7 separate regions of the Homo sapiens genome follow, and regions 1, 2, 3, 4, 5 and 6 are each linked to region 7. Evidence: promoter capture Hi-C in 16 types of primary human blood cells and fetal thymus (Javierre and others, 2016). All regions are on one chromosome and are shown on one strand. Each heading gives the region's core, a stretch centred on a gene start or on the middle of the fragment in contact. The rest is flanking DNA. Distances are from core to core; before and after follow the strand shown. Region 1 overlaps DNAH8 (dynein axonemal heavy chain 8). Region 2 holds the start of DNAH8-AS1 (DNAH8 antisense RNA 1). Region 3 overlaps DNAH8 (dynein axonemal heavy chain 8). Region 4 overlaps DNAH8 (dynein axonemal heavy chain 8). Region 5 overlaps DNAH8 (dynein axonemal heavy chain 8). Region 6 overlaps GLP1R (glucagon like peptide 1 receptor). Region 7 holds the start of KCNK17 (potassium two pore domain channel subfamily K member 17).

Region 1 (4,042 bases), core at 1,177-3,676, 380 kb before region 7:
TCACAAAAATAGAATTTACCCCTTGAGAAATAAAGCAAGATATAAGCAAATTTAGTCTTACTGGTGCTTTTCTTCACCTTGTTTATTAAGTTCATTAAAGTTCTTTGTTTAGATTCTTTTTCCTTATTAACTTACAGGAAGGTCTTTACAGCACATTATTTGTATAAAGAAAGCTATTCATCCAGGGAAACAACTTCCTTCATGTGCAGAATTTTTTTTTAGTTATTTCCTTTTTAATCAAAACAGGACAAAAGTAGGCTGATTTAATTGTTATATTTCATATCTTCTTTTTATCATAGTAATTGAGAGATACATATTTAATTCCATTCTCCTAATCGCCTGTTGTCCCAGTGGATTCTTCCTTGCATCTTATGGTCTGCACCCACAATAGCCTAAGGCATTAGTTGAATTCAGAAGATAGGATACAAAAAGTTGAGAAATGAGCCTTTGGGAATCTTCACAGTTAGGCAGGGGGAGGGATCCTAGGTGAAGTAAGGGTTCAAATCCAATTGGCTCATGCAGAGATGAACCACTACAGTGTGTCTATTTTAACTAATAACAAACGCATTAATCTAAACACGAAGACCCAACCAGGAATTCAGAATTGCAGTTTTAAAAAAATGTAAGCATATATAAAGTGAATGTCTAGTCTTTTAGGTTGACTTTACGGAAAGTGTTAAATTCTTCCCAGTGCCAATAGGAGACAGAATACATGGATAGACCCTCAGTGCGACTCAATATATCATTTCTGACATTCTTATGTTTACTTTTTATCACTTACTCATCTTGTAGGGGTCCTGAGAAAATAAATGAATATCCAGATATGCAAGTTGCTTTGCTTTCTCTGAGCGATTATAGCTATGTAAGTTTGAAAGGATTAATCCTTGACTATTCTCTTCCATCTGTCAGGAGCAGAACTCTGACATTGCATCTGAGCAATGCCCCTTAACCCTCCTCTTTTGATCATAGAGACCCCATTACACATCTAGACCCCATTCAACAAAATCATGACTCACCAAGTTTTAGAAATTAATTTTTGTATGTTACTTTAATTTTTTTAAGTAAGTCTTCTTCTATTGCCCTTAAAATTCTTGATTACCTGTCCAACAAATCTCTCGGTTTCCCTTAGCAATGGGCACATTCTTTGTAACACAGATAGACCAATGAGTTCTTTCTGTTTAGGTGACATCTCTGAACCATAAATATTTTCGCACACACTTGGAGGACAGCCTTTCCTTGGGCCGACCCCTTCTCATTGAGGACATTCATGAAGAGCTGGATCCAGCCTTGGATAATGTATTAGAAAAGAATTTTATTAAATCTGGCACCACTTTCAAGGTGAGCTTTGTAAAAAAAAAAAAAAAGAAAGAAAGAAAGAAAAGAAAAAGAAAAAAAGAAAAAAATTAAGAAAGAGAAAGAAAGAAAAGAACAATGGTGACATCTACTTATCTTATTGAGCATAGCAGCAAATGCAATTTCCTTTAGGCAGTAGTATTTGGTACGTCGGAAATAAACTATTTCCAGACTGATACTTCAGTGTTTCCTTTTATTTTTTATAGCGTATAAAAGTTTCTGAGGTGGGGGCAATATTTTGATAAGAGTAGTCGTTTAGCTAAAACTAAGTAACATTAAGGAAACACATTGTCTGGTCTTAATATGTTAGTGCAACACACAGTATATATATGTTTAAGCAACTCTAGATATTGGTTTTGCAAGCCTTATATATATACATTTTTACAAAATAACCCGGATTTCTTCCCTGGAGAAAATGACATTTTAATAAAGTCATTGATTTGGTAAAGTCATTGATTTAATAAAGTCATTTTAATAAACACATTGATTTGGTCATTTATCTCTTTATTTTCAGTCTAAACTCATTGACTTTGTTGGAAGCTATGGAATATTGTTCTCAATTGTTGGTGATGAATTATTTTCAATTTGTATAAGTGTTTCATGTTTAATTTGTGTCATTCTCTACCTTTAGGCTTCTTAAGTTTTATAACAGCATTTCTGATTGGGTGTTTATTACTTTGGACAACTTAATTTCATGAGTATCAGTGAATAAGTAAAAATGAATATTTTCTCATTAAATAAAGACAGATTTATTCAGAAAAATTTTCTTCATAATGTGAAAATCTTTTATATGCCGCATTTTAAAAAATTCATTCAGCAAAGGTTTATGGAGCATCCAATATATACTTAAGCCTTTATGAGTTTATAGGGAGAAAAATAAATAAAACGCAGTTAGTGTTCTGAAGGTTAGCATCATTCTATAAGATTAGAGGGTAGAATTTCTCTTTTTCATAAAAAGAAGCTAAGAACAAAATTTTGGTGACTGGCTTGGATATTATGGACTCATCCACAATTTTGAACTGCATTTAAAAAGGTTTAATCCACAGGTAAAGATCGTATATATTTAAACTGTACAATGTGATGATTTGGTATACATATACGTTGTATAATGATTACCACAATCAAATTAATTAACACATCCATCACCACACATGCTGTACCTTAGATACCTGAAACTTGTTCATCTTATCACTGAAAGTTTGTACCCTTTGACCAACATCTCCCCATTTCTCCCATCCCCTATCTTGCTGGCAACCACTGTTCTATTCTCTGCTTCTATGAGTTTGACTTTTTTAGATTTCACATGTGAGATCATACAGTGTTTATCTGTGTCTGGCTTATCTTATATGACATATTTAATATGCCAAAGGAGGTTATAGAATCTCTATTCCCGAAGGTCTTTTAAAAGATCCTAGATTTTTATCTGCAATGTGAAGGCATAATGCCTTAGAATGTGATGGTGGCCTTAGTGATGTTTTCGGTCACGGGCAGAATTAAGATTAACCAGAGATTTAAGTCATTTAAAAATTCTATGATTGCCACCTGATTTTTAGATAGCAAAAACCAATTGTTTTTTCAACATGCTGCAAATAGTAGTGTTGAAGATAAATGTTACCTTTTTGAAAAAAGTTGGCGTTTTTCCTTTGAAAATTACATTAACTTTTTCTGTTGTCAAATATGCTTCAGATATACCTATGAAATTCAAAAAACAAAATTTCCTATAAACACATCAAATTTCCACAGTAGGAAACAATTTTCTTAACTGGAGAAAAAATAGCGGCTCCTGTACTACAAACAATTGATGGGAGTGATAAGTACTTGCTAAAATGTTAAAGTCAAATCTTAGATATGTCTAAGTTTTCCTTTATTCACCGTTTGTTTTGGATAACTTTTTCATTTGATTTGCTTGGTATCATTGCTAAAAACATCACCAGGCAGGACTACAATTCTAAATTATTCTAAATTGAATAGGCTTTATTATTTAAGATCAGTGATTAAAATTTTGTAACTTTCCTTCCCAATTTATTGAAGCGTCACAGCACTGACAGGTAAATTCTTTTCTAAATTGAACCCAAGTTCCTTTCCCTGCCCTTTAAGCTGTTTTTAATTTTATATGTGAATTTATGTAGGTGAAAGTCGGTGATAAGGAATGTGATATCATGGATACATTTAAACTTTACATTACTACGAAGTTACCAAATCCTGCCTTTACCCCAGAGATTAATGCTAAAACGTCAGTCATTGATTTCACTGTTACAATGAAAGGACTTGAGAATCAGTTACTAAGGAGAGTCATTCTAACAGAGAAACAGGTAATCTCTCTCTCAAGGTAAAGAATTTCTGCTTATAATACATGCTTAAAATGTATTGAGAAATTGCTAAGTATGTGAAAAAGAAAAAAAAATTTAAAAACCATATTTATCCTTGTTAACATAAGTATTTCTTTTGCAGCCTTAATTCCTGTCAAGAAATCATGTAACTCATCTTCTCATCCAGCCTGAAACACACACACACACACACACACACACACACACACCCGTCTCTTTCTACTTCTGTCTTTAAACTTCTAGGTGTACTGACTCTCTTATGTATAGTCCTTGTCTTGGGGACACCTGAAAACATCAATAAAACAATGATTGAGAGAAAAAGAAATTCCTCTGAATGGCTCTTCTTTCCACTGTAGTAGTTT
Region 2 (4,220 bases), core at 450-2,949, 360 kb before region 7:
TCTGGAGAAAACTTGGGAAGAAAGTGATACCCGGACACCTCTGATATGCTTCCTGTCCATGGGATCTGACCCCACCAATCAAATTGATGCATTGGCCAAGAAACTGAAACTGGGTAAGACTAGCAATCTACAAAATGTAGCAACACTTCCATATTTTTTTGCCCCAAATTTTGCCTTTCGTAATTTTATAACTGATTCTTAGAAATAGATGTAAAACTGAATTCGAAAAATATTAAACTTATTCCTCTTTCATCCTTTCATACCTCCTAAAGTGAGGGTATGATATAGGTATCTTTGTTTAGAGAAGAACATGCTCATCTAGCATATAGTGTTTTTTTTTTGATTGGTTGTGTTTTAAGTTCTAAGGAGATAGCTGTATTGCATGGATAGCTGACTAACAAGAATGAACACACAATAGCCAAAGTTTATGTTATTGCCATGTCTATATAAAATTACAGCAAAGTTTATTTTGTCACAAATTAAAAAACTATAACCATTATTGTAATGCATAGTAGTTAGGGATTAATTATTTCATTGCTTTCACTTAATAACCATTCAGTACAGGCAGTGTGCTAGATCTGGGGAGCACAGAGATGAATACAACACAGCTGGGAAAGACAGACACGTAAACATGTAATTGAAGGCAATGTGACAACTGCAGTAAATGTTTCATAGAAGTGGCTGATCACAGGATTCAGAGCTACTCGGATTGCCTGGGGTATAGGGGAAAACATCACATTGATGATATTTGAGTAGGAAATTAAAAAATAGATAAAATTTACCAGGTGGGGTGGTGGGAGATAGAAAGTTACTCCAGGGAGAGGAGATGGGAAAGAAGTTATAAACACAGAAGTGTTTATAAGTGTGACTGAGTCAGTAGGATTAAAGGACAGGGATGCAGAGCACATCTTGACAGGACTGAGCCATCCTGTAAGAAGGACTTTCTTGACAGGACTGAGCCATCCTGTAAGAAGGACTGTTTATCCCTTGCTTCATTCATACTCTGAAAATCGGAATGCTGTTGACATTGGCATTTGCAATCTTCTAGGGTCAGGTATCTGTAACTATACCTTGTAGGGTTAATCCAATCATGTCTTTTGAGTATTACAGTGATTGATTATGAATCACTAAATCTATCCTGTGAAGTAAAATTACATTAAATTTATTACATAGTCGACATAAGCATGATATAAAATCAATTCAGTCATGTCCACGTACTAGCCACATGTCCCTCTGCATAAAACCAAGCTACGGTAGCATGGTCCATGTTCATGTTCTCTTTTCTCATCTTGACTTCACTCTATTTGTTGTCACCACACTGTTCTATATTCTCAGTGGATCAGTGTTCAAATGGCCACGGTCTTCTGTCTGAACACTGATACCAATGCAAAGAGCTCCCAGGTTCTATTGGCAACTGCTCATGGTTAAGTCTCATTCGCTATCTTCAAAGTAGGCAGTTTTGCTCTAGTATTTACTGCAGCACACCAGCCGTCTGAGTTTATCTCAGAGTGATGCCTCTCGAGTAGCCTTATAGTTTGCAAATCTCTCTCAAATCTGTTGCTCTATGAGTGTTTATCCAGCTGCCTCTAAGCCTCACTTCTCTCTGCACACAGGTATATTTTTTCTCTCTTAACACTTACCATTCTTCTCCACATGGCAGAACATGTGGCTTCTAGTGGCTCATGGGCTTCACTGCTTACGTGCTCAGAATGTTCAGCACCCTCAGGGAAACTCCTCTTATTGTCATGGTTCCAAGTTCCAATATCCAGGGAAGTAACTCATTGTCTTTGCTTTGGTCATGCACTCCTTTCTGGGCCAATCAATGAACTGTCGCTCTGGAGATAGGTTCCTAGTAGAAACCTTATGTACAGAGCTGGAATGGGGGACATTTCTTAGAAGATACAACGCCTAGAAGAAGGAGTATTCAACTAGAGTTACCATTTCAAATGTTGTAATTTGAGAACATAATTAAAAAATTCAAGGTCTCCTTTGGGAGAAATTATAACTGACATTAAATGAATGCAGAAGGGCAGACTTGTGTTATATCCTTTAGTGTTATCATACTGCTTTGCTTGGCAATTTGGTGGTTTCCGTTTCTTGGTCCTACCTTACTTTTTCCAACAACAATCCAGGCTTCTATTGATTACTTTATTAGGGTACTGGAACAACATAGATTTGGCTTTAACACTGAAGGATCAAATGAATTTTATAAACAATTCTACTGCCAAATCATTTGAGCAGTATTAGGAAGTCTCAGGCTGCTTGCTGCTTTGGGTTGAAAGTCCCAAAGATAGCTGTTAAAATGGAACTATTACACATACCGAACAACATGTTAATGTAGTCTCAGCTATTAATATTTTATTTGAAAATCTGGATAATAAATAATCATAGAATGCTTCAGGTGAATGTGACTGGAAATCTTGAAATCCAATTACTTTTTTTTTTTTTTTTAACAGTTGGGGGAAACTATGGTCTGGAGATAAGGCCCCAGACCTAGTCCGTGGCAGATCTGGTTCAGAACTTATCTCAGGAACCCCACTTCAGTGATCTCATTGGTCTTTCTTTTTCATTCCTTCTCATTGTTTTCATTGAATGAATTAACCAGCTACCCGAAAATAACATACGGATGGGACAGAATCAATAAGTTTTTGTAGAAAAAGAGGAGAAGGGAAACTTTGGTTATAGATATTGTCTTGTACTGGTCAAGATCTGTAGTGAGAAATTTGGAGCAGATAAACTCTGCACAGAGTACTGGGTACATGGGCAAAGTGGAGAAAGCAGATGGGTTTAGCACGAGAGCCTTTCTAGGAGCCTGACTACTGGAGGAGGGAGGTCTCAGAGGAAGGATGGGCTTAAAAAGAACACCTAAAAACAAACGAAAGAGAACAAATACATAAAACCCCACAACCACACAAAAGTAGTAGTGGGAAAACTGATATAACAATATGTACAGATGAAACATTTTAACATTTTAAATAATAAGAGAATGGCTCATAATTATAGTAATAAATTACAGGCCGGGCGCGGTGGCTCACGCCTGTAATCCCAGCACTTTGGGAGGCCGAGACGGGCGGATCACGAGGTCAGGAGATCGAGACCATCCTGGCTAACACGGTGAAACCCCGTCTCTACTAAAAATACAAAAATTAGCCGGGCATGGTGGCGCGCGCCTGTAGTCCCAGCTACACGGGAGGCTGAGGCAGGAGAATGGCGTGAACCCGGGAGGCGGAGCTTGCAGTGAGTCGAGATCGCGCCACTGCACTCCAGCCTGGGCGACAGAGCGAAACTCCGTCTCAAAAAAAAAAAAAAAAAAAAAAAAAATAAATTACAGCATCTCATTAAAATTGGCAAATTTATAGAAACATATGAATTTAGAAAATTTCCTCAGAAAAGGTAGAAAACCCTGAATAAACCAATAATCAAGGGGAGAAAAAGTAGAAGTTTTAAAATTATTACATCAGCAAAGGCTCTAGGCTTGGATAATTTTCTGATAAGTCCTTTAAAACTTTCAAGGACTCTCATATGCTATATTCTGTTCCAAAAGATGGAAAAAGAGAATACATTTTCCTTTTTCTTTTGAGACAGGCTCCCACTCTGTCACCCAGGCTGGAGTGCAGTGGTGCAATCATGGCTCACTAAAGCCTTGACCTCCCAGGCTCAAGTGATCCTCCTACCTCAGCCTTCCAAGTAGCTGGGACTACAGGCACACACCACTAATCCTAGCCACATTTTGTTTTCTGTTTTTTTGTAGAGATGAGGTCTCATTATGTTTCCCAGGCTGGTCTTGAACTCCTGAGCTCAAGTGATCCTCCCTCCTTGGCCTCCTAAAGTGTTGGGATTACAGGCATGAACCACTTCATCTGGCCCATTTTCCTCTTTATTTGCATTATTCTGAAACAGTAAACCGACCCAGATAGTAACTGCATAAAAGAAAGAAAACTGGCTGGGCATGGTGGCTCATGCCTGTAATCCCAGCACTTTGGGAGGCCGAGGTGGGTGGATCATCTGAGGTCAGGAGTTTGAGGTCAGCCTGACCAACATGGCAAAACCCCATGTCTACTAAAAATACAAAAATTAGCTGGGTGTGGTGGCGGGCACTTGTAATCCCAGTTACTCGGGAGGCTGAGACATGAGAATAGCTTGAACCTGGGAGGTGGAGGTTGCAGTGAGCCGAGATTGTGCCATTGCACTCCAGCCTGGGTGACAGAGTGAGACTCCAT
Region 3 (4,316 bases), core at 1,794-4,293, 400 kb before region 7:
ATCAGACAGATTTAGTCCTTTTTCCACCTCACCTCTGAGAAACCTTGCTCAAGTCCTGTCTTCCTGCTAGTGAATCACTCTACATGATCACACTGATTTCACCTTGGGAAAGGTGTCGTTTTATGGGAGTACGCACAATGATTGAAATGGTCCTTTTAATGTTCTGCTTTCAGATACCGCCGAAGAGCACATGTGACTCCCAAATCTTACCTCTCATTTATAAATGGTTATAAAAACATTTATGCTGAAAAGGTGAAGTTCATTAATGAACAGGCTGAACGTATGAATATTGGTAAGAGGAATGGAATGGAATGGGATGGAATAGAAATAGGGTTTATTTGATAGGGATCTCAATATTTTGTTTGGTGGACATTTTGTCTGAAAATGAAATACTCACTTTGTTAGTAGTAGATAATTTTAAAGGATGGCCTTGAGGGTATTTTGACCTGTCGAGAAACTCTGAACAGAAGAAAATCTAAACAGAAGTGGCCTATTTTCTCTGCAGAACCATTTCTCCTGGCTCTTTCAACTCTGGGTCCCCTGTGCTGAGTCACTGAGCCATTGCTGGCAGATGGGGACAAGCCAGCTTTTGGGAATGGACAACAATTTCAGTTTTTGGTTTCATTTTGATTTGCCTTGATTTGTATAAACTTTGCCATGTTAATTTTCCCTACATTTCTAATAAAGAAAAAGGCAAAATAGAAGCAAAAACAAATAAAAACAAAAAGAGATTGTGTACCTAAGCAAGAGTTTTCCAAGTGTCTGCTATATGTAGTATAACTAGCAAAAGTAAACATTGGAAGAGATTATATGTCCAGAAAGCATGTGGCCCAAACAATCTAAAACACCTTAGTTCTTATTTTTCAAGTTCTAAATAAAACTTGAGGGGCTGAGTATGGTGGCTGATGCCTGTAATTCCACACTTTGAGAGGCCAACGCAAGCGGATCACTTGAGCCCAGGAGTTCAAGAGCAGCCTGGGCAACATGGTGAAACCCTGTCTCTACAAAAATATAAAAATTAGTCAGGCATTGTGGTGGTGCATGCCTGTAGACCAAGCTACTTGGGAGGCTGAGGTGGGAGGATCACTTGAGCCCTGGAGGTCAAGGCTGCAGTGAACTGAGATTGCACCACTACACTCCAGCCTAGGTGACAGAGTGGGACCCTGTCTCAAGAAAAAATCAAAACAAAAACCACTTGGTCACATAGCATAACAGCGCCAAGGTCTGTGAAGTCATAGTTATGAGAGAAGACTGTGAAAGAAGGCTTCTTCTGCGGTTTTCTCATGATTCAGCTTCTTGCAGCTTTCCTATATGATGCTTTAGATCAGTAGTGTGCTGAAGCCAACTCATAGTGGCTTTTGAGAACACAATGTTAAATTTTTAGGAATTTTGTGATCTCCTTGTTAAACAGAACTTTTATTAAAAATTAACTCATGTATACTTACAATTAAACAAATTGGATTTAAAATAAAGGCAATAAATGCTCAAACTCATCCCTTCTTAGTTTTACTCTTTTTTTTTTTCTTTTTCTTTGAGACAGAGTTTTGCTCTGTTGCCCAGGTTGGAGTGCAATGGCGTGATCTCTGTTCACTGCAACCTCTGCCTCCCAGGTTCAAGGAATTCTCCTGCCTCAGCCTCCCAAGTAACTGGGATTACAGGCATGCGCCACCATGCCCAGCTTGTTTTGTATTTTTAGTAGAGACAGGGTTTTGCCATGTTGGCCAGGCTGGTTTCGAACTGACCTCAGGTGATCCACCCGCCTTGGCCTCCCAAAGTTCTGGGATTACAGGGGTGAGCCACCGTACCCGGCCTACTCTATTTTCTTATATCAATGTTCTTGAGGTTATTTACTTCTGTCTGTATGGTAGGAATATTACATAACAGTGTGGTACTGAGAATCTTTTGGTAGCCTGAAATCAGCCATGGTGGGAGTGTTTACACTACAGAAATTGGACAATATACAGATGAGGGCTTCCCCTTTTCCCAGTGACCCAGATTTAAATATTTACCAACATCCCACTACCTAGAACCCGTTGGAATGTGAGCAATTCAGTTAACCAGTTCTTTTTCTCTACGGTGCTAAAAGTTGCAAAGTCCATTACATAAGTTTTCACAGTTATTTTCATTTTTATAACAAAGAGAACCACAAAAATGTTAATATATTTTCTATTTCATTTGCCACCTCAGCTGCAATATGATTCAAAGGCAAAAAATGATAGCTACAAACTGTTTACAAAGCCACAGAGAGCATAAATTTGTCAAATAAGTTTCTTGGCCAAACTAATCTTATTCAATAGGACATTGTGACTTTCCCTTAAATGTAGCTACGTGATATTCTTCGGTCAGAGCTATTTTCTTTGCCTTCCTGTTGAAACTCAGAAATATGGTCAATATTGTTGCTTTTAAGACATGTATATTTTTAAAGCTTTTGTCTACAATTTTGTGTTTGTTATATTACATGTACAGTGCCTAATAAATAGTAAACATTGAATAAATATTTGATGAAGGCATATACCTGTACTCAGTAAAGGTATATATGTGTGTATTTGTAAAGGTCTTGATAAACTAATGGAGGCAAGTGAATCTGTTGCTAAACTCTCTCAGGATCTTGCAGTCAAGGAGAAGGAGTTGGCAGTGGCTTCCATAAAAGCAGACGAAGTGAGTTTGCATTTATTTTATCACTGATGAGGAATATTTTTCCATATTAAAATGCATTGTTTTAAAATGGTACTAAAGAACAAGCAGGGTATAAACCCATGGACAATTCCTGATAAGATAGTGTTCACAAAGACCATTAGACATTTTTGTTTAACTTATACCAGCGTATACCTGAACTATTAATTTTGCTACTTGGCCTAAGACTATTATTTCTTCTCTCACTCTGTCTGTCTCTCTTGTTCTTTTTCATCTGTTTATGAAATTTCTGCTTGACTATGAGTTATATTTGGTCTTCTGTTTAAGGTCCCTGTATGTTCCAGGTTTCTGGGATGGCCCAAATCGAGGAAGAGTTGGTAGAGTTTTTTTTTTTAAAAGAAAGAAAGAGGAAAAATCCATACTCCTCTCAAGGAGATAGGTATATATGTGTGCTGCTTTTTCTCTTTTTTTTTTTTTTTTTTTTTTTTTTGAGACAGAGTCTTGCTCTGTTGCCCAGGCTGGAGTGCAGTGGCGTGATCTCGGCTCACTGCAACCTCCACCTCCTGGGTTCAAGCGATTCTCCTGCCTAATTTTTGTATTTTTAGTAGAGACGGGGTTTCACCATGTTGGCCAGGATGGTCTCAATCTCTTGACTTTGTGATCCGCCTGCCTCGGCCTCCCAAAGTGCTGGGATTACAGGCATGAGCCATGGTGCCCGGCCTATGTGCTGCTTTTTTATCTATTATACAGCCTTCTAGTCTCAGACTTTCAGCTTCCAGTCACCAAGAGTCAGTTAAGAATAGATACTTCAGTCTTGATCCTTAGCCAGTTGCTGAAATGAGTGAACTAACATAGGGGAGGCACTTAAGCATAGTCCTGGCATATATGGTAAGCACTCAATAAACATTAGCTTCTTTTATTGTTATTATACAAGGCTTAAAATGGTTTTTTGCCCTTATTCTATGATACTTACTTGAATTGTTTTAATTTTCTAGAAATTTGTAGAGTGAAAATACTATTTCTTCTGAAAGCTTTAAATATTTATTTATATATATATTCTAAGCCTAAGAAAAGCTTAGAAAATGGAAGACTGCGAGGAACTGCTCAAAGGAATTTACTTTAATATACCTTAAAATATAGACAACTTAGGAAATAAGTTTGTTCTTATTCGTGTTTTATATTATGTTGAATAAATATTTGCTCACTATTCAGATCTATAAATTTTGCTTGAAAGGTTTCTATTGGCTTTCATGTGTTTCCTCAACTTAACAGGTATTAGCAGAAGTCACAGTAAGCGCTCAGGCTTCAGCCAAAATTAAAAATGAAGTACAGGAGGTAAAGGACAAAGCCCAAAAAATTGTGGATGAAATTGATAGTGAAAAAGTGAAAGCTGAAAGCAAGCTTGAGGCAGCTAAACCTGCACTGGAAGAAGCAGAAGCAGCCCTGAATGTGAGCAGTGCATTGTTACCCCTTCCAACACAAGTCCTAGAAGGCTTCATGTTTCATTACATGAAATTAACTCATCAGAAAACTGAATTGAATTCTTAATGTGATTGATAATCTCTGAGTCTGGAAACAAATGTGTCAATTAATTCAGTTTTCTAAGTTCTAATTTTTTTAAAGTCTTCCCCTCTTATATTATTTTCATCCCACAAATTGGTCTTCCATGAGAACTGAGAAAT
Region 4 (4,247 bases), core at 1,299-3,798, 470 kb before region 7:
TTAGGAAATTCCTGTAGGACTCAGATTAAATATTCTGTCAGGTCTTTGGCACTGGCAACCTCTATTCCTCTGGCCGACTGTGCAGTAGTTCTCAACTATTCTTCACCTGAACACACCTAAGAAATAGCTAATATCCCTTTTCCACGTTGGGATCACTGGTTAGTGAGTTGCATGCTGCATGACCTCTGGCTCCAGGGGCAGTCTTGTATTTGCATAATGACAAAGCTGCCAGTCCAGGGAGTTCTGGGTTGAATATATAAAGGTCAAGGTCCTCGGATGCATCCTCTGTGTTCAGAGAATCCTGGCAAAGATGACCATAGGATATTCAGTACTTCCTAGACTTCATGGGCAACTGCTGCCCTATGGTTCATTGCAAATTTTGCCCATCTGACTTCCTGGATGATGACCTCTTGATGAAGGGCTGTAGATTCACCTGGGCAGTGTCTGCAGCCAAGAAATTCAGGATTTGAAGGCTTTCTTCAATTCATACTTACTTGGACATAACCTGATGAGTAAAATACCTATTTGTGTTATTAGTAAACTCAATGTTTACAAACTTCTAGGCCCTGCCAGAAAGAGTATAAGGATAGCTAAGAAGTCATCAAATTCTGGGAGATTCTCTTCCTAGAGAACTTTGCAGTGCCAAGTAGGTCTGGAAAGCCTGTTCCAGAACTAACCACAGACTGACCTAGTAGTGAGTCATACCTGCTGGATCCCTAGGACTACTTTGATGTGACTTCAGAAGGAAGCTGTATGTCTCCTTCGGTAAGACTTGACTGTAGGTATTGCCTGGATTGTGACACTTCCCTGGTGGATCCCTGATTCCATGGGACTTCATGGGCCATGGTGGGTTTGACCACACAAAGTTGTACAATGCAGGTATCTAGCCAAAGGACAGAAACTAGCTATGCTCGATTTTATTTCAGATCTCCCTTTTCCATCTTTAGAAGTTATACACCATCAAGGATGACTCTTTTTTTTCTGTGCAGAACAATTTTGGCCTATCTAGTTGCTTCATCTCCCTAAATGCCTGCCCATGCCATGTTGGTTTACATGTCCTTATTTGGAAGATGTTTTTGGCATATTGACTGCCTTTCAGCTCTCGACCAGTGGCCAGGGAAACAGCATAAACTGAGTATTGGGAAAAATGCTTCTTACTGCCTGAACAACTGGATTACCTACCTCCTTAGAGCAATTTATGTACAACTCCATTTATAACTTCATGTATAACATAGGCTTTCAGGGAAATTATGAGTTGTATTCAGGCATCAGACCGTACCCAGAAAAAACCCCATTCTACATGTGAATCACTCTGTCCTAGATCAGAAGAAGTTTGAAGATCCTAGTCAACAAGTGCCACTCACCAGCAAATGTCACTGCACCACATTGAAACTGCTTGCCCTTGCTACACACTGCAGTCGGCTTCTTGCTCTAACTGTAGGTAGTTGGGGTTTTTACCCAGTAGCCTCCCATTGCTTCCTCCATGGCATCCATTCTATTTCTTGTCCTCCTTTGTTGTGCTCAGCTTTCTGGACCCCTTGTATTCTCATAAACACTTCAGCAAGCCCTGATGATCAGAAAACAGGAGCCCTGCTATATGGGGGTAGCAACCCTGGGTCTCTAGCTCTGCAGAATCTAGTTGTAGTACCTGGTGTAATTCTCTCTCTGTGGGTGGGAAGAGCACACCTGTAAGTGAACATCAGACTTCAAGCTTGACTCTGGCTGTGCGGTCATCTTCTCCAGGTGAACCTGGTGATACCTAACCCTCTCCTGATCTTTAGGGATCTGATTTGTCCTGTCCCTTTAGAGATAGTCTGTCTCTTGCTGGATGAAACCTTCAAGACCATTCATAAAAGGAAAATCCCTGGATAGTGTTCTCTTTTCCTAGATTCAGTAGTTCCACAGACCAGTAACAGTGTCTCACATGTTACTCTCACAAGCAGACCCCACTTGGATTTGGTTCACAGACTTTTTGGAAAACCATCTTATTCCTTGCTTGGCATTTACTCCCAGAAGCAACCAGCACAGTTCCTTTGCTGGACCTATGCACCATAAAACTAGGCCCATTCTCCTATTCTATGACTGACACATGGGAACAATAAGTAAAATCACTGCAGTTATATGAGTTTTATTCATGAAAAGCAACAGTTTTTATTAGCTGTATGATATCTATTAGGAACTGCCCTTTAAGGACAAAACATTCATTCCCAAAGTAATATTTCTTCTGGAATTTACTTCGGTAAGGCCATACTATTTTCTGAATCTTCTTTGAAATGTGATTTTTTCCGTTCTTACCTTTTAGATACAATGCTCCATTTAAAAAAAATATCCAGAATTGGGTGTATAAATTGTCCACTTCCTCAGATATAATTGAAGAGTGGCTCGTAGTACAGAACCTTTGGGTTTATCTTGAAGCCGTCTTTGTAGGTGGAGATATTGCCAAACAGCTGCCTCAGGTAAATATGGCTTTTGTAATTACTGATAAAATAATTTGGTGTATGTTGTCTATATGTCTCTGTAAAAGTCTTCACAAAGACATATGGTCAAGGCTTGACTATGATGGGGTTTGGCAAACTATGGCCCACTTGCCTGTTTTTGTAAATAAAGTTTTATTGGAACACAACCACATCCATTCTTTTATATATTGTCTGTGGCTGCTGTAGCACCACAACAGCAGAGTTGAGTAGTTATAACTGAGATTATACGGCCCAAAAAGTCTAAAATCTTTACTATCTGGCCCTTCACAGAAAAAGTTTTTTAGGAAGTGCTGACCTCTGATTAGCAGAAAGAAGAAACTTACATAGTTTTAAACAGTGAATAATCTCGAGGTTGTTTGAGGATGTGAGGTACATTCAAATGCAGTACTATTATAGTAGTTCATGTCTTCTAAGAGTTAACCTCATAATATTCCTCTGAGAATAATATTAAAATTAATCTATATTCTGTAAGCACAGATCAACTTTAGTTAATTATTACTAAGTCTACTACTAGCAGATCAGAACATGCTGTGGAGCAAGAAAACAGCCTTGGGAGGCTGTAACAAAACCTTTAAAACAGCTCTATTGGGGCCTTTTAAATAAATGCCAATAACTGTAATAACTGATAGGTTTAGTCGATGAAGGTAACTTTGCTATTAGAAAATTAAGCCTGATCTTCCTAAACTTCTGTATTTACAAGCAAGATCTATATAGGTTAAAAATCAAGGATAAAAGAGGTTTTTTTTTTGCTTTTTTTTTTTTTGAAAATGGCCGATTTCCTTTGTACTAATAGCACATTTTTAAAACATTAAACTGAAATGTATCATTTTTGTTTTTTAATCAGAAGTCTGTATTTTTAAAAGAGGAAAGATTATGCCAATTGCTAGAGGCATTTTTGCAGCTAAGTACAAAGCTTAATATCATTCATAGTAAATAGAAAATTTTCACTTGCGAAAATGTAAATGAAACTTTGTTTTGTGGCTTTACTGTCTTTTTTCTTTTTTTCCCCGCCTTGGGGTACTATTGAGCTGTAATTATTCCAAGGATCCTGAGATCAAATTATTTTCATGCTTCTTCAGTTTGCTCCTCAAACCAAAACACCTGGGGTGCTGAAACACTAGATTGGAACTTTAAGTTGATAGCTCTGCAAATTAATCATGTGGTACTTTGAAAAACATGTTAAATGCAATGAAACAAATAAGCAATAAGCCTCATTGTGATAAAGAAGCATTTTAATATGCAGTTTTATAACTTTGGGTTTGTGTCGCTCAGAATTAATTCAAATGAAAAAAAATTGTCTGTTTAAATTATGCAGCCTGAGACTAATAGAGGCTGGTTTGAAGAACTATAGAAAATTCCAAGGTGAAGACTTTGCTTTTTTTCAATTATCCAAATGCTAATCTTTACTGGCTATGGATGCATTTTCAGGAAGCAAAACGTTTTCAGAATATTGACAAGTCTTGGATAAAAATAATGCAGCGAGCTCATGAGAATCCCAATGTGATTAATTGCTGTGTTGGAGATGAAACCATGGGACAACTTTTACCTCATTTACATGAGCAGTTGGAAGTATGTCAGAAGTCACTCACAGGGTAAGAGTTTAATTTTTAAATCACATATCATTTTGTATGTGACAGTGTTTTATCCCAAACTTACTAGTATTGACTACATTTCTGGTTTGGTAGTGATGGTTAAAGTGGGGCTAGGAACTTAAAATTTCACATAGATTGAACTTTTCTGTGAGGAAGACACCTTTGACTTGGGGGTGGT
Region 5 (4,305 bases), core at 512-3,011, 420 kb before region 7:
CGTACAAGGGCTTCTAATGTGCTGGGCAAGGTTGTAGTTTTCAATCTGGTGGTCTGTACATGAGCGTTTGTTATTTGTTAAGCTATTTGACATACTCTTCAGTATGACTGACACATTTAAACAAATACGGAAAACAAACCAACCAGAAACTGAGCCTCAGAGAAGTGAGATAACTGCCCAATCAAGGCCTTTTAGCTAGTGCTTGGCAGATGGGTGTTGCTAATCCCTATCTCATGCTTCTTATAACATGGTTGTCCCACAGGAAGGTGGAAATCTAGAATATAGGATTTCAGGAAGCAAACGGACTTTACAGGCACTTAGCACAACCAACCATGATTTGGAGGAAAATTTCATGTTTCCCCAGGGCAATTCTTCAATTAGTGTGAACAAACTCCAGTTTCTTTAGTCTCCACTCTTCATCAACCTGTTCTGCATCTCTGAGCAGATATTCATATTCCTCTGAGAATACCATGCTCAGAACTGAACACACTCTGCAGTGTGTAGTCTCACTGGAGTGAAGCAGAGTAAATCTTTCTTCGGTCTAAATCAAAGACATTCTGAGACTTTGAGAACAGTCTCTAAACCTACACCCCAGTCTTTCTGAGAGTCATAATGATGGTCAGACCATCACTTTGCTGGGTGTTCCCTAGGAATGTTGCATGTCTAGCCCAGGCCAGAGTGGTGACTGACTGTAGGCTGGAAAAAGTGGTCCTGATTCCAGTTCTGCCAATACCAGTCCATGTGACCTTGAACAATCGGCTTCACCTGTCTGGGCCTGGTCTCCTTCTCTGTAAGATGAGGGAGTACTCTCTAAGCTCACATATGCTTCAGGGTGAATGCTGATGTACAGACTCTAGGGCCAGGTTGCTTGGGTTCACATCTCAGATTTGTCTGCATGCAAGCTGTGTAACTTTGAGCAAGTTACTAAGCTCATGTTAAAATGGGACTAGTAATAATAATACCTACCTTGTATTTTTTTCTTGTAGGGTGCTGGGTGGGGGATTAAATGAGTCAATACATATAAAACACTTATCACTGCGTACTAAGCTTGGCTGGATCCACTACTGACTCCCAGTCTTAGCTGATCCCTTGAGAGAAATTCTGAACAACACCCAGCTTAGTCAGCCTTGTAATGATTTGTTTACTGGGATAAACATATACTTGGAAATCTTTTGGTAAGCTTATACCTTCAATCTTGCTTATCTTTCAGGAATTATTGGATGTGGATACTTTGATCCTTGTAGAAGTTTCAAGCCTCAAATATGTGAGATGATTGTGAATTTAGTCTCAGTGGGTAGAGTGCTGTGGCAATGGACTAAGGTACAGAATGGTTTGTCAATAATTTTTAAAAAGGCAACTATTATTCAGCCCTAGATCACACCTCGTGGCTCATTAAGTTATCATAATATCATATATAGTGGTGTTTTTTGGAAAAGACAAATTACGTGCTCAAATAGATTTACAACACCTTTTCCTTCCAGGGAGCAAATGATCTGACTAAATGATGCTTTCCGTATGTATGAGATGTTACTGTAAACCAGACATGACATCCAAGACAAAGTAGAATTTTGCTGAAATGAGAACACTGCATTTCCACTTGTTACTCTGATTTGTAAATCTTTATTTGTATTATCTGTCTCCTTCTACCAAACTATGTCAGACACTCAGATGCTTATTGACTGACTTAATACATGGATTTCCAGATATTCTCAGCCAACTAGGACTTGAAGTCTAACTTGTGTATTTCTCTGAGCAGGAGCGTGAGTTAGTAAATGGATGGAAATGTTCTTAACAAAAATTGGCTAGATTTGCATACACAAGTCAGTGTCCTAAGTAAAGCTCAGCAAACCTGCAGCTGTCCCCAGATGACTTAGGGCAGTACTCATGAAAAGGCAATTAAGTGTAGGTATGAGATAAAAATGAGGTTGATATATTTGACAAAAAGCCATGAAGGAGATAAGGATTAGTTGTCGTAATTCACTACACATCCATTAGGCCAATTATACACATGTGGGCACGCACTTGTCTCCTGGGAAACCTGAGTGTGCCAGCCTTTCAGATTCCTGGGTAGACTGGGGGATTTCTAGATACACAATTATTGGAAGAGGAATTTGGGGGTTTCTTATGAGATGCTCTTCCATGTGGCCACCTTCAGTGATGAGTGTGGGGCCCTGTTCCTTGCCAACACAGGGCCTTTGCACATGCCATTGCACCTCTTTTAAAGAAACTCAGAAATGAGTTGCAAGGACTGAGCGTCTGAGATAGTTTTCCGTGGTAAGATACATGTGGTTTCCAATAGGATTATTGCTCAATTTACTGTGCTTATATACATAGTTCTCTGAAAAGCTTTGCCCTTGCAGCTGTCTTCCATCAGTTTCTTTTGGTATTTGGATGTTTCCTGGCTCCATTTCCTCAGTGTCTTTTCTTTACCTCTTTAATCCATTCTGCACAAGCTTTCATTCCCACTGTTCATGTCAAGGCCACCAAAGACCTTGATCTTGCCACATCTCAAGGTTAATTTTCCTCTCCCTCTTACTTGACTTTTTAGCAGCATTTGACCTAAATGATCCTTTAGCAGCATTTGACCTAAATGATCCCTCTAAATATTTTCTTCACTTGGCTTCAGAGGGTCCCCATAGTCTTGATTTTCTTCCTAGTGCACTGGCTACCTCATTAAAGTCCCCCTTCTTCTTTCCCTCCTCTAAACACTGAAATGCACCTGGTCTCGATGCCAGGCCCTCTTCTCTATCTACATTCTTTCCCTAGGTGGCCTCATCAAGCTTCAAGGCTCTAAACATCATCCCTGTGCTGATGACTTCAAAATGGATATCTCCATCCCAGGCCTCTCTACCTGGCTCCAGGCCGATTGCTAACTACTTAATAGACATCAGTGTTTGATGTCTGATACTCATCTCAAAGTTACCATGTCCAAACAGAACTCCTAAATGTCTTTAAATACAATCCTCTCTCAGACTTCTGCATCTTAGTAGCAGCACCAGTTATCCTGCTTCTTAGGTTAAAATTACTGGGCACCATCCTTGATTTATGTCTTCCTCATGGCCTACATCGAGTCCATCAGTGAATCTCAGTGACCTCCCCTTCAAAATCTACCCCAAAGCTGAACCTTCCTCACCATCCCCCCGTGACCACCCTGATAAGTGGTCCGATCACCTGTCCCCTGGACCATGCAGTAACTTCCTAACCAATCTCCTTGCTTTCTTCTTGCTCTCTTGGAGTCTGTTCTTTTCACAGTCCTAGATGATATTTTTTAAAAAGTAAAGCAGAAATCTTTACTCCTTCTTAAAACCACCAGTAGACTCCCAGTTCCACTTACAATGTCAGCAGACTCCGCTTACTTCCCTTGCCTGCCACCAACCTGCTCCAGCCGATGGCCCTGCTCACCATTCCTTGAGTACCCCAGGTTTATTGCGTTGCTGGGCCACCATACGTTGGCTCATTCTCATCACTCTTACCTTCAGAGCGACTGTTCCAATCATCCTCTAAAGTGACTGCACTTGTCCCTATCCTAGTCATTATCTGTCTCCTGGCCCTGGTTTTTTTTAAACCATGGCTTCTATCATTATTTGCATATTTACATATATATTTGTTCCCTGTTCATTCTCAGGCTCTCCCCACTGGAATAAAAGCCCGCTTGATGGCAGCAGAGTTAGCTGTCCTCTGTTTACCACTGTGTCTTCTTAAGAACCAAGGAGGTGCTCAGTCATTGAAAAATGAATGAATCTTCCTCCTCTGCCCACCTCTACATAAGCAGCCTTCTTTGTATCTTTTCTTCAAATCTCCCATCTTCACAAAGCACTCTTTTGATCCATTCATGCCTTGTCTATCAGCCCACCTTTGTATTACTTTATATAGCTTTAAGGCAGAAGCAGTTCAGAAAAGAAAGAAGGTGATGAAAAGTAGAGGGAAATATTAGAAGAGAAGGAAAGAAGCAGGTTAACAAATAATGAGAAGAAGAAGGAAAGAAAGGAATTTTTTTTTACAGAATTCTCTTTAATGACTGCCTCAGTTACCAATGGCTGCCGTCATGGCTGGAGTGTTATACTATAAAAAAAGCAATATTCACATAACCTTACCGCTTTGAGTATTTTTACATACTTGTAATATAACTATATGTTTTACATTTTAGTGGGTAGGATGAACATTTTAGTTTGCAATGGAACTGAGCAAAGAGGGAAGTTGATAGGTGATTGATAAAATACACTTCTTTTATTTTCATCTCCCCATGCTACTTGCTGTTTTAAATAGCACTGTGAATTAGCCTGTAAAAATTACAAACTCAATAGG
Region 6 (4,089 bases), core at 345-2,844, 260 kb before region 7:
TCCAACGCTGCCTGCTTGTACAGGGCTTGAGAAGTCACAAAGATTTTCACCTGCTTTATCTTGTTGGATCTGTGCAGTTTGAGAAGAATGATATGCCCATTTTATGGACGGCAGAACTGGCAACTGATGAGGAAACTGAGGTCCTAAAAGATAAATCGTGTCCCACAGTCCTGCATTAACAGAGCTGGGATTTAGACCAAGAACTTATAAATCGCTGTCCAGTGCTCCTTCCTGTAGACCACACCACTCCCTCCTGGTGTCCTCTTTCCTGTCTCCTGCTTCCTCCAAAAACTCCTGAATCTGAGGGATGCCCCTTCCTTCTTGTAACCTCCAACCCAGGTGTCGTCTCCACGTGCCTTCATCCACCTCAGAGAGATCCCATGAAGCCTGTCAAGTCTTGATTCTAGAAACTGCCATCCTGCCCTTCCCATGGCCCTTTAGACCCCCTCTGACCGCTGCTTTGCTCTCCTGGTCAGCTCTGCTGCCTTGTGAGGGACAGGGACATCTGGATTGCATCCTTCCCGCTACCCAGAACCCACAGCCCCACCTTGTCAGGCTTGCAGCAGGGACTTATGTTGTGGGAGGATGAAATGGAGGAGTGGGGGACACTGGTGGGCAGGGCCTTGCCCCTCCTCACAGGGCATGGGGTCCAAAGCTTCCTCCCTGCTTCACTTTGCCATTGGCTGTGGTTACTGCTGGAAGATCTCACAAATTAAGCAGAATGATTGGTCATTGGACATGAACATATATTCATTTCCTCTTTCTGGGAATATGTTGATCCTAGAAGTGAGGAAGGGGTGGGGCCCCAGTCCCCAGGAAGCCTGGTCACTCCCTCCCACTCTGCCCTTTCCACTAAACAGTAGAAATCATGGGGATTGCTGCCATTGACTGAGCCTTCTCCATGTGCCCACCATCCTAAGCATTAACTCAGTCCCCACAGCCATCCCATGGGGGAGGGGCTGCTGTTCCCTTTTGCACAAGTGTAAGCTGAGCCTAAAACATACAACTCTTGCACTCGGTTGCAAACCTAATATCTGGGTGACCCAGGTCCAGGCCCAGATCTGAGCCCAAGGCCAGGGTTGTTCAGCCTCCACTATGTTACCTGGGCACCCAGGCCCTATGGCACTGGGTGGCCCTAGCCTCATTTACTCAGTCTTTCCCCAGACCAGAACCTCCCATCTGTCCCAGGGCCCACCACCACTCTCTCCCTGCCCCAAAAAATCCTCCTGATAACAGTCCACAGCTCTCCTCTGCTCTCCGGAGCACTGATGTCCCCACCTTTGTACCTTTTCCCTGCTGTGCCCTCCTGCTGAAGTGCCCGCCCTCCTCCTTGCTAGCCCAGTCTGCCTCCAACCCCCTTCACCCCAGCCCCACCTCACAGTCCCCAATCCCTCAGGCCTCTTGAGTCTGCACTGAACCCTGCCCCAACCACTCCCTGAACACTTTCACCCACTGCCTTCCCTGTTATGTCACTTGTCCTGTAAAGCATTGACCCCCGAGTAGCCTGAAGACTCTCTCAGGCAGGGCTCCTGCAGTCACCTTTATACTCCCTGCATTCCCCTCCACCCACGACCACCCAGAACCTGGCACAGTTATGGTTTCTGTAAATACGAGGCGTGGGAGAGGCCAGAAGTCTGGGTAGTTTGCACTGTGTGTGCCTGCAGGGGTGGGATGAAGGCTCGAAGGTATTTAGAAGCCCTGATCTGGTGTAGGGAGGGGACAAGATACTCTTACTGTCAGGAATCCCTCACCTAAGGGGGAGCCACAGCCCCATCCTCAGGAAGCTCCAGTCTGAGGGGAGACACAGCCCCGTCCTCAGGGAGCCCCAGTCTGAATATAGTTTTATGTCCACAGCTCTGCTCAGAGTAGGTGACAGCGCTGCCCTGGGGTGCAGGAGGCCAGATTGGCCTTCATGGCGCTGTCGTTAACCCCTCCCCCCGCCTCTGGGAAGAACTGGCTTCCATACCTCTCTGCCTGCCCCAGACACACCTTCTGCCCCAGTTCCCAGCAGTGACCTTGTGTGTGGTCTGCTTTCATTCTAGAAACAGAAACCAAGGGGGATTTCTCCGTCTCTCTGCCCTCCACCCCCAGCAGCTGCTGCATTTAGGGGCAGCATGGAAGAGCCCTTTACCCGGAGAAGAGGGAAGAAGTGAGAAGGGAAACGGGGCGGTGGGGGTTGATCCACCAGGACTTGCTCTGATGAAAACTGTGCCACCTCCTCAGCTGTGGCTAATATCATGGACAACACCTTTGCAGCTGTTATGTTTGATTTCTTGTTCTTTTTTTCCCCAAGCAAATACAGTTGACCTTTGCCCTCAGAAGAGCTCTGTCCTTCAGGGTAGCCCCTGCCGCCTTGGCACACTTATGCCAAGGATGCTGCTGGGGCTTAAAGTGAGCTGGGCCCTTCCATGGGGCCTCCGAGGCAGCAAGGGGTGAGCAAGGCAACCCAAGTCTCTCAGGGAGGTGTGTGATAAGCCAGCTAGAACCCGAGACTGGATCCAGCATGTGCCCAGCACGCTACAAGGCAAGGGGGCAAGCTTCTAAAAAGAAGCTATTTTAATTTCAGCACACGTGGACATTTTTGTGATTTCAAAAAGCAAAATGTTGTTTTAAATTATGTATGGGTCCTACATTTTATACATGGGGCTCTTGGGTCATTTCAGCATCTGCAGCCTCTGAAGGACGAATATTTATAATTTTTAAGGCTGTTCAGGAAAAAACTAAAAAGAACGACAACCCCAAGACATAGCTGAAGGAAGTGCACAAAAACACTCAGAAGGAATGGTGGATTCTCAGTGGGATGGGTCTGTTTGGGTCTGTGTGCTGAAAAGCCATTTCGGTGACCTCACTGGAAGTGGAGGCTCAGCTCTCCCTACTCACAGGTGAGAGGGATCCCTCCCATTGCACGTGTGACTTCAGTGTTCTGGAACCTCCCTGACCCCTTCACCTCATGTCCTCAGGACTCTTCCTTTGGGTGGATAGAAGCTGGGTTGAATATTAGATTTGGTTGCTGTGTCAGAGGGGAGCACGGGGAGGGGGTGGGGGGTGCTGTGTTGAGTGCATCTGTAAGTGAGTGCGTTTTGGAGGAGGAATGCTAATGGCAGACATCCCAGCTCTTTGTAGCCCTGAACGCCACTACTCTCCCCGGCCCCCGCACACCTTGCGATATTCTACCATGGTCACTGATCTGAAGGACTCCAGATTCTAGCCTTAACTCTGCTTCCTGGGGGGGCTGTGCACCCTTGATTCAGTTCCTCTCCCACTCTGGCCTGTGTGTCTTCTTCTAGAATGGTTGAAAGTGCAAGAAGCCCTCAGGCAGGCTGACTAGGCGCCAGAAGGAGCTTAGAGTCCTGGGCCCTCAGAAAGTCTCTCTCCTAAGTGAGATCAGAGATCACAAATGAGACACACACGCTCCTTTCCTCCTTCACCCACCCACCTCCCCAAAAGCATCAATTTAGCAGACATTTGCTGGGTGCTCGTGACACATCAAGCTATGCACCCTGGGAGGAATGAAGATGTCAAACCATCCACCTGGGGCCCCTGGGTGGCAGTGACTTATTCTCACTCTCTTTCAGAGGTGGCTGATGCCTGGCAGAATTTGGGGCTTTGAGGTTTCATGGAGATTGAGAAACCAAGTGTGTTAGGGGGTGAGGGGGCAGGAGAGGGGCTGGCTGAACCCACAGGCCTCCCATATATGCCCTCCCCCCAGGGTGCCACTGTGTCCCTCTGGGAGACGGTGCAGAAATGGCGAGAATACCGACGCCAGTGCCAGCGCTCCCTGACTGAGGATCCACCTCCTGCCACAGGTGAGTCCATGTAGGCTCCCCACCTTTAGTGCTCCCCACCCAACCAACTTCTGGAGGACTTTGATGAACTCAATGTCCATGGCTGGGAGCCATTTGCCTCTATAGGATGCCACCCCTGCCCTCTGCCTTCATCTCATTGTCCAAGCTACTCCTTCACCTGGATACCTTCCTTTCTGCCGACCAAAATCTTCCTTTTCTTCAAAGTCCGCGGAAGCACTGCCTCCTCCAGAAAATCTTCCCCAGGACTTCTGCCATCATTTGGCCCTTACTCGTTTGCTGTAGT
Region 7 (3,987 bases), core at 1,488-3,987:
AGGACTCTGGGGAAGAAGGATGTTCATTCTCATTTGGGTAGGAGCAGAGGCCTCATGGAGAATGGGATGTTTTAGCTGGGCCTTTGAGGGTCAGGTAGGATTGCTTCTGGTGGAAGGATGTTTAGGTAGATGGGACAGCAGTGCAGAAGGTGGGAGGTGAGACTGCCTGGGACCTAGATTAGGGAGACTGGTAAGAAGTGATTGAGGCCAAGCTGTGCTTGGCTTTGCCATGCCAGGGATGAAGTCGCAGGTATCAGCCAAGGTCACTGAGCAAAGGGGAAGTAGGATCAGGTTTGTGTGCTCTGTGGCAGCTGGCAGTATAGAAAGGGTTGACCAGAGGGGAGAGACTCCTGCAGAAGTGAGTGATAGACGGGCCCTGGCCTGTCTCCTGGCACAGGTGGTCCAGGAGGAACAGAGAGGAGATATTCAGAAGCCCAGGCCTCTGGCCCTATTTAGTATGGGCAGTAAAGGAGATGTTGCAGAGGATTGTGAGGGTGTGTGGACATGGGGCAGACAATCGAGATTTAGGACAGGTGGAGAAGCAGGGCTGGGAGGAGGAGGACCACTTGCTCTTGGCCTTGAGGAATTTCAGAAGTTGCATGTCCACATCTGGTGCTCAGAAAGATCTGGGCTGGATACCACATCCTTATTCCTGGAGTTGGCTGAAGCCACAGGAGTGTTGAGGAAGGGGGTGAGGTGGGGGTGGAGGGAGTTGAAGGGAAAGCCCAAAGAGATGACAGCCTGGCTGGGAATCTTGGGAAGCACCCACATCCACAGGTCCACACTGAGGCAGTATTTATGCTGGTTAACAGCTCCAGCTCCTGGCTATGTAGCCATGCATTCGTATGTAACCTCTCTGAGCCTGTTTCTTCACCTCTGAAACAGGATGATAAAAACAGTACCCACCTGTGAGGGTGAAACAGGATGATAAAAACAGTACCCACCTGTGAGGGAGGTGAGACAAATGAATACGGGTAAAGTACCAGCAACAGTGCTTGGCACACGATAAGTGCTGCACAGAGGCATTTACTGTTATTATAATCACCATCATAGCCATCTCCCTGGGCCCAGGCTGCTTGTAGTCGAAGTTCACCACCTTTGCAAGGGTAATGGCAGGCAGCCTCAGCACCAGGACCCAGCAGTCGGGCTGTATTTGCAGAAGTCCGCAGGTGGGGAGCTGGAGGAATCACTTTAGGTCCTTAGTAGAGATAGGCCTGGCCCTGGCTACCTCCTGACCTCACCGAATCGGCCTAGTCCGAGGGTTCAGAACACCACTTCCGCTCCGCGCTGGGTCCCTTCCCACCCTGGCACGGTTCCCTGCCACCTTCCGGGGATTGGCTTTGGACTGGAGACTCTGGACGGATAAGCCACCAGGACTGCAAGACGGGGATTCTGGGCTGGCGCGCAGCTGTCTGGACTCTGGGCTCTTGGACGAAGGGGTGGGGAACCAAGCCAGGACCCAGGACATCAATGCCTCCGCCAAATCGAGCAGCTGCCAGTCTGGCGTCGCTTCAGTCCTAAGATGCGCCACCCCTAGAACCCTCCCCGGCCTCCTCCGCCCTGCTAGGCCCCACCCTTGAGGAGCCTCTGCTCAGATTTACCTCTGAGTCCTCCCCTGAACCCTGCCTTCAGCCTTTCTGGGCAGCCGCGCGGCGGCGGCGCGCCCAGTCCTTGTGTCCGAAGACTCGGAGTAAAGCGGGTTCAGCCAGAGAGCGGCCCTGCGTCCGCCCTCCTCTCGAACCCGGGTCTGCGCACGTCGAGCCCCCTCTCTGCGTTGAGGGTGGCCCCGACCAGCACGCCTCGGGCCCAATCCACCCACCCTCCGGGACAAACGCGCCTTCCCCCAGGCTCCTACGGCCGCGCCCTCGCTCCTGCGCATCCTTAGACCCGGCGCCCCTGCCGTCCCAGCTCCCAGTTCGCAAACGTGCGCCCGGGTTCCCCCTCTGGAAGCGGCCAGGTGTGGCGTTTAGCTCTTTGCCACGGGTGCGGGTGCGACCAACCCCCAAGCAGGCTCAAACGCGCCCTTTCCCGGGTCAGGCCGGGCGGGGCCGGTTACGCGCGCGCCCCCTGCCGTAGTCGTCCTCGCCCCCAAATTTGGATGTGTCCCCAGGCATCTGCCTCCTCACCGGGCCAGCATGCCCTCTCGCCCCCAAGTAGGACTCAGCCCGGCTTCTCGCAGTCCTCTCGCTAGGGCGAGGGTCTTTTCCTCCGAGGTCCCCCAACCCTCTGGTCCCCGCGCAGGAACGCCCACCCCCGTTGTGCCCGCGTCTGCGTTCCCGACGTTTCCCTGAACAGGAAACACCTGACCAGGGCCTGAATAGGCCCCCTCGCCCTCGGCCCGTACACCCCGCGGCCCGCTACCCCATCCCGCCGCGCCCAGGCCGACGCCGCTCGCCCCTGACCCGGATCAGCGAGTCCAGCGCCGGGCGGTCCAGACACGTGAAGTTCTGCAACAGCTCCCACTTGTCGCGCTGGAAGCTGCGGCTGGAGTCCTGCGCCGCGCGGCCCTCCAGCGTCCAGAACACGCCGGTGCCCAGCGCCAGGTAAGCCAGGTAGGCGAGCAGCAGGAGCACGGTGCTGGGCACCGCGCAGCCCCGGACCCTGCCCTCGGGAGCCGCCCGGGCTCGCGGTCGGTACATAGCGGGAGAGGCGGGGAGCCGGCGCCGGGAGCGGTGGACTAGGACCCGGTGGGAGGGAAGGGCCAGGCGTCCAGCTCGTATCTCCTCTCGCAAACGCCTGCTGGTGCCCGGTTTCGCCGGGGAGGAGGAGTGTTGGGGAATGGGACAGCCTGGCCCCACCCAGCCCTGGGATCCAATCCCCGGGACAAAAAGAGGCTCTGAACTGTGGGCATCTGGCCCCGCCTCAAATGTGTGCGGGGTGCCCACCTGCTAGGCCTAGGCCAGGGAGAAGGAGGAAGCTGCTGGGTGACCGCAGGCGCTGAGGGAAGGGGCCCAGAGCCCCCTCACATTTCCTGAAATGAACAATGGGAGGGACTTCTGGAAACCGCACTCAGAGGTAGGAGATAGTAGAGACCAACTTTATTGTCTTGGGGCCCCTGCCTAAGTTCTTGGACTCGGGGGCTATCTCCAAGGACTTGCTGTCTGTCAATCTCAAGACCACCTTGGGTCTCCCACACCTCTGTCCTTTCCTTTGTACCCCAAAAGAGGGACCCCAGCTGATTGCCACTTGTCCATGAGCTTGGGAGGTAAGAGGAGCCTTAACCAAGAGGCTTGTCCACTCCTTGCTTCTGAGAAGGCCCCCGAAATCCCTCTACCTGGAGTGGAGGAAGCGTCTAGGCTGTGTGAAGAGTCCGTGGGTCCTCAGCTTCCCAGTCCTTTCTTGGATATGGGGAAGTCCTGGGGTGTGACTTGGACTCCTCTTGCTGCTGTAGAGCCTCTCCTGGGTCTCCTGCCTGGAGCCGCCTTGGCTCCACAGCCTTGCCTCAGACCTGTGCAGAGGAACCCAGCCACATAGGAGCCCACTTGCTGTTGGATGATGGGAGAGGCAAAGGCCAAAATTTCCAGGCCCCGGGATGGAGTGGTCTAAATCTCTCCTGGTCAGGGATGTTGCAGTCTGGCAGGGGAAAGGCCAGACCTGGAGAATGCATTCCTGAGAGAGGCCAGACGTTCATGGAGCTCACTTTCTGGAAGGATCCTGGGATCTGCTGGCTCTCTGGCTTCCCATGGGGTGTTTGGAAAGGCTCTTGAGAAGGCAGGAGCCCAGAGGGAGTGATGAAGTTAAGGGGGTGGCCTGTGAGGGTCAGGGGAGGCCATGTTCAGGAAAGTGGGTAGGACACCCAAGAGGTCCTAAGCTTTGTTCACAGACAGCCCTGGACTTCTAGGCAAGGGGAGCTGGCGAGCTTTGAGAGGCAGCTCGCCTGCCCCTCGGCTGAGAGCTTCCTGAGGGCAGAGATCCTCTTTTCACTAAGATTGTTCCAAAGTCTCTGCCCAGGTCTCCCCTCTCTTTGATGCTCCCTGCCAGCCATTC

What was found. The method cuts DNA at HindIII sites, captures the fragments that hold promoters and counts their contacts. A CHiCAGO score of 5 or more calls a contact.
Region 1: a fragment that was not itself captured here is called in contact with the fragment with the promoter of KCNK17 in region 7 in 1 of 17 cell types (activated CD4 T cells); the score reaches 5.4 in activated CD4 T cells.
Region 2: a contact is called between the fragment with the promoter of DNAH8-AS1 here and the fragment with the promoter of KCNK17 in region 7, in 2 of 17 cell types (activated CD4 T cells and naive CD8 T cells). The highest score is 6.4, in activated CD4 T cells.
Region 3: a contact is called between a fragment that was not itself captured here and the fragment with the promoter of KCNK17 in region 7, in 1 of 17 cell types (activated CD4 T cells). The highest score is 6.3, in activated CD4 T cells.
Region 4: a fragment that was not itself captured here is called in contact with the fragment with the promoter of KCNK17 in region 7 in 2 of 17 cell types (activated CD4 T cells and naive CD8 T cells); the score reaches 5.5 in activated CD4 T cells.
Region 5: a contact is called between a fragment that was not itself captured here and the fragment with the promoter of KCNK17 in region 7, in 5 of 17 cell types (activated CD4 T cells, naive CD4 T cells, total CD8 T cells and 2 more). The highest score is 8.5, in activated CD4 T cells.
Region 6: a fragment that was not itself captured here is called in contact with the fragment with the promoter of KCNK17 in region 7 in 1 of 17 cell types (activated CD4 T cells); the score reaches 5.6 in activated CD4 T cells.

What each region holds. Positions count from the first base shown.
Region 1 is chr6:38,928,329-38,932,370 of GRCh38, forward strand. DNAH8 (dynein axonemal heavy chain 8) reads left to right here. Exons shown (of 93, transcript NM_001206927.2): 75 at 1,183-1,338; 76 at 3,483-3,665. All of the region lies in intron 2 of DNAH8-AS1 (DNAH8 antisense RNA 1), which reads right to left. Among named protein-coding and RNA genes, the nearest start is that of DNAH8-AS1, 23 kb to the right of the region's middle. The HindIII fragment of the contact is 6,462 bases long and covers 1-4,042 here.
Region 2 is chr6:38,951,408-38,955,627 of GRCh38, forward strand. DNAH8-AS1 (DNAH8 antisense RNA 1) reads right to left here and starts at 1,700. Exons shown (of 5, transcript NR_038401.1): 1 at 1,641-1,700. It overlaps DNAH8 (dynein axonemal heavy chain 8), which reads left to right. Exons shown (of 93, transcript NM_001206927.2): 82 at 1-113. The HindIII fragment of the contact is 10,031 bases long and covers 1-4,220 here.
Region 3 is chr6:38,911,295-38,915,610 of GRCh38, forward strand. It overlaps DNAH8 (dynein axonemal heavy chain 8), which reads left to right. Exons shown (of 93, transcript NM_001206927.2): 66 at 174-292; 67 at 2,555-2,658; 68 at 3,907-4,083. The region is part of intron 4 of DNAH8-AS1 (DNAH8 antisense RNA 1); the gene reads right to left. Among named protein-coding and RNA genes, the nearest start is that of DNAH8-AS1, 40 kb to the right of the region's middle. The HindIII fragment of the contact is 1,240 bases long and covers 2,424-3,663 here.
Region 4 is chr6:38,846,346-38,850,592 of GRCh38, forward strand. DNAH8 (dynein axonemal heavy chain 8) reads left to right here. Exons shown (of 93, transcript NM_001206927.2): 37 at 2,303-2,456; 38 at 3,906-4,069. Among named protein-coding and RNA genes, the nearest start is that of DNAH8-AS1, 100 kb to the right of the region's middle. The HindIII fragment of the contact is 1,679 bases long and covers 1,710-3,388 here.
Region 5 is chr6:38,889,442-38,893,746 of GRCh38, forward strand. It overlaps DNAH8 (dynein axonemal heavy chain 8), which reads left to right. Exons shown (of 93, transcript NM_001206927.2): 58 at 1,211-1,320. Among named protein-coding and RNA genes, the nearest start is that of DNAH8-AS1, 62 kb to the right of the region's middle. The HindIII fragment of the contact is 1,166 bases long and covers 1,179-2,344 here.
Region 6 is chr6:39,052,688-39,056,776 of GRCh38, forward strand. GLP1R (glucagon like peptide 1 receptor) reads left to right here. Exons shown (of 13, transcript NM_002062.5): 2 at 3,710-3,806. Among named protein-coding and RNA genes, the nearest start is that of GLP1R, 6.0 kb to the left of the region's middle. RefSeq lists enhancers at 1,414-1,915, 1,916-2,415. The HindIII fragment of the contact is 1,882 bases long and covers 654-2,535 here.
Region 7 is chr6:39,311,682-39,315,668 of GRCh38, forward strand. KCNK17 (potassium two pore domain channel subfamily K member 17) reads right to left here and starts at 2,738. Exons shown (of 5, transcript NM_031460.4): 1 at 2,403-2,738. The coding sequence starts at 2,639. It overlaps LOC105375047 (a long non-coding RNA gene), which reads left to right and starts at 2,275. Exons shown (of 3, transcript XR_926774.3): 1 at 2,275-2,543. It also overlaps a transcript of KCNK16 not described here. The HindIII fragment of the contact is 16,119 bases long and covers 1-3,809 here.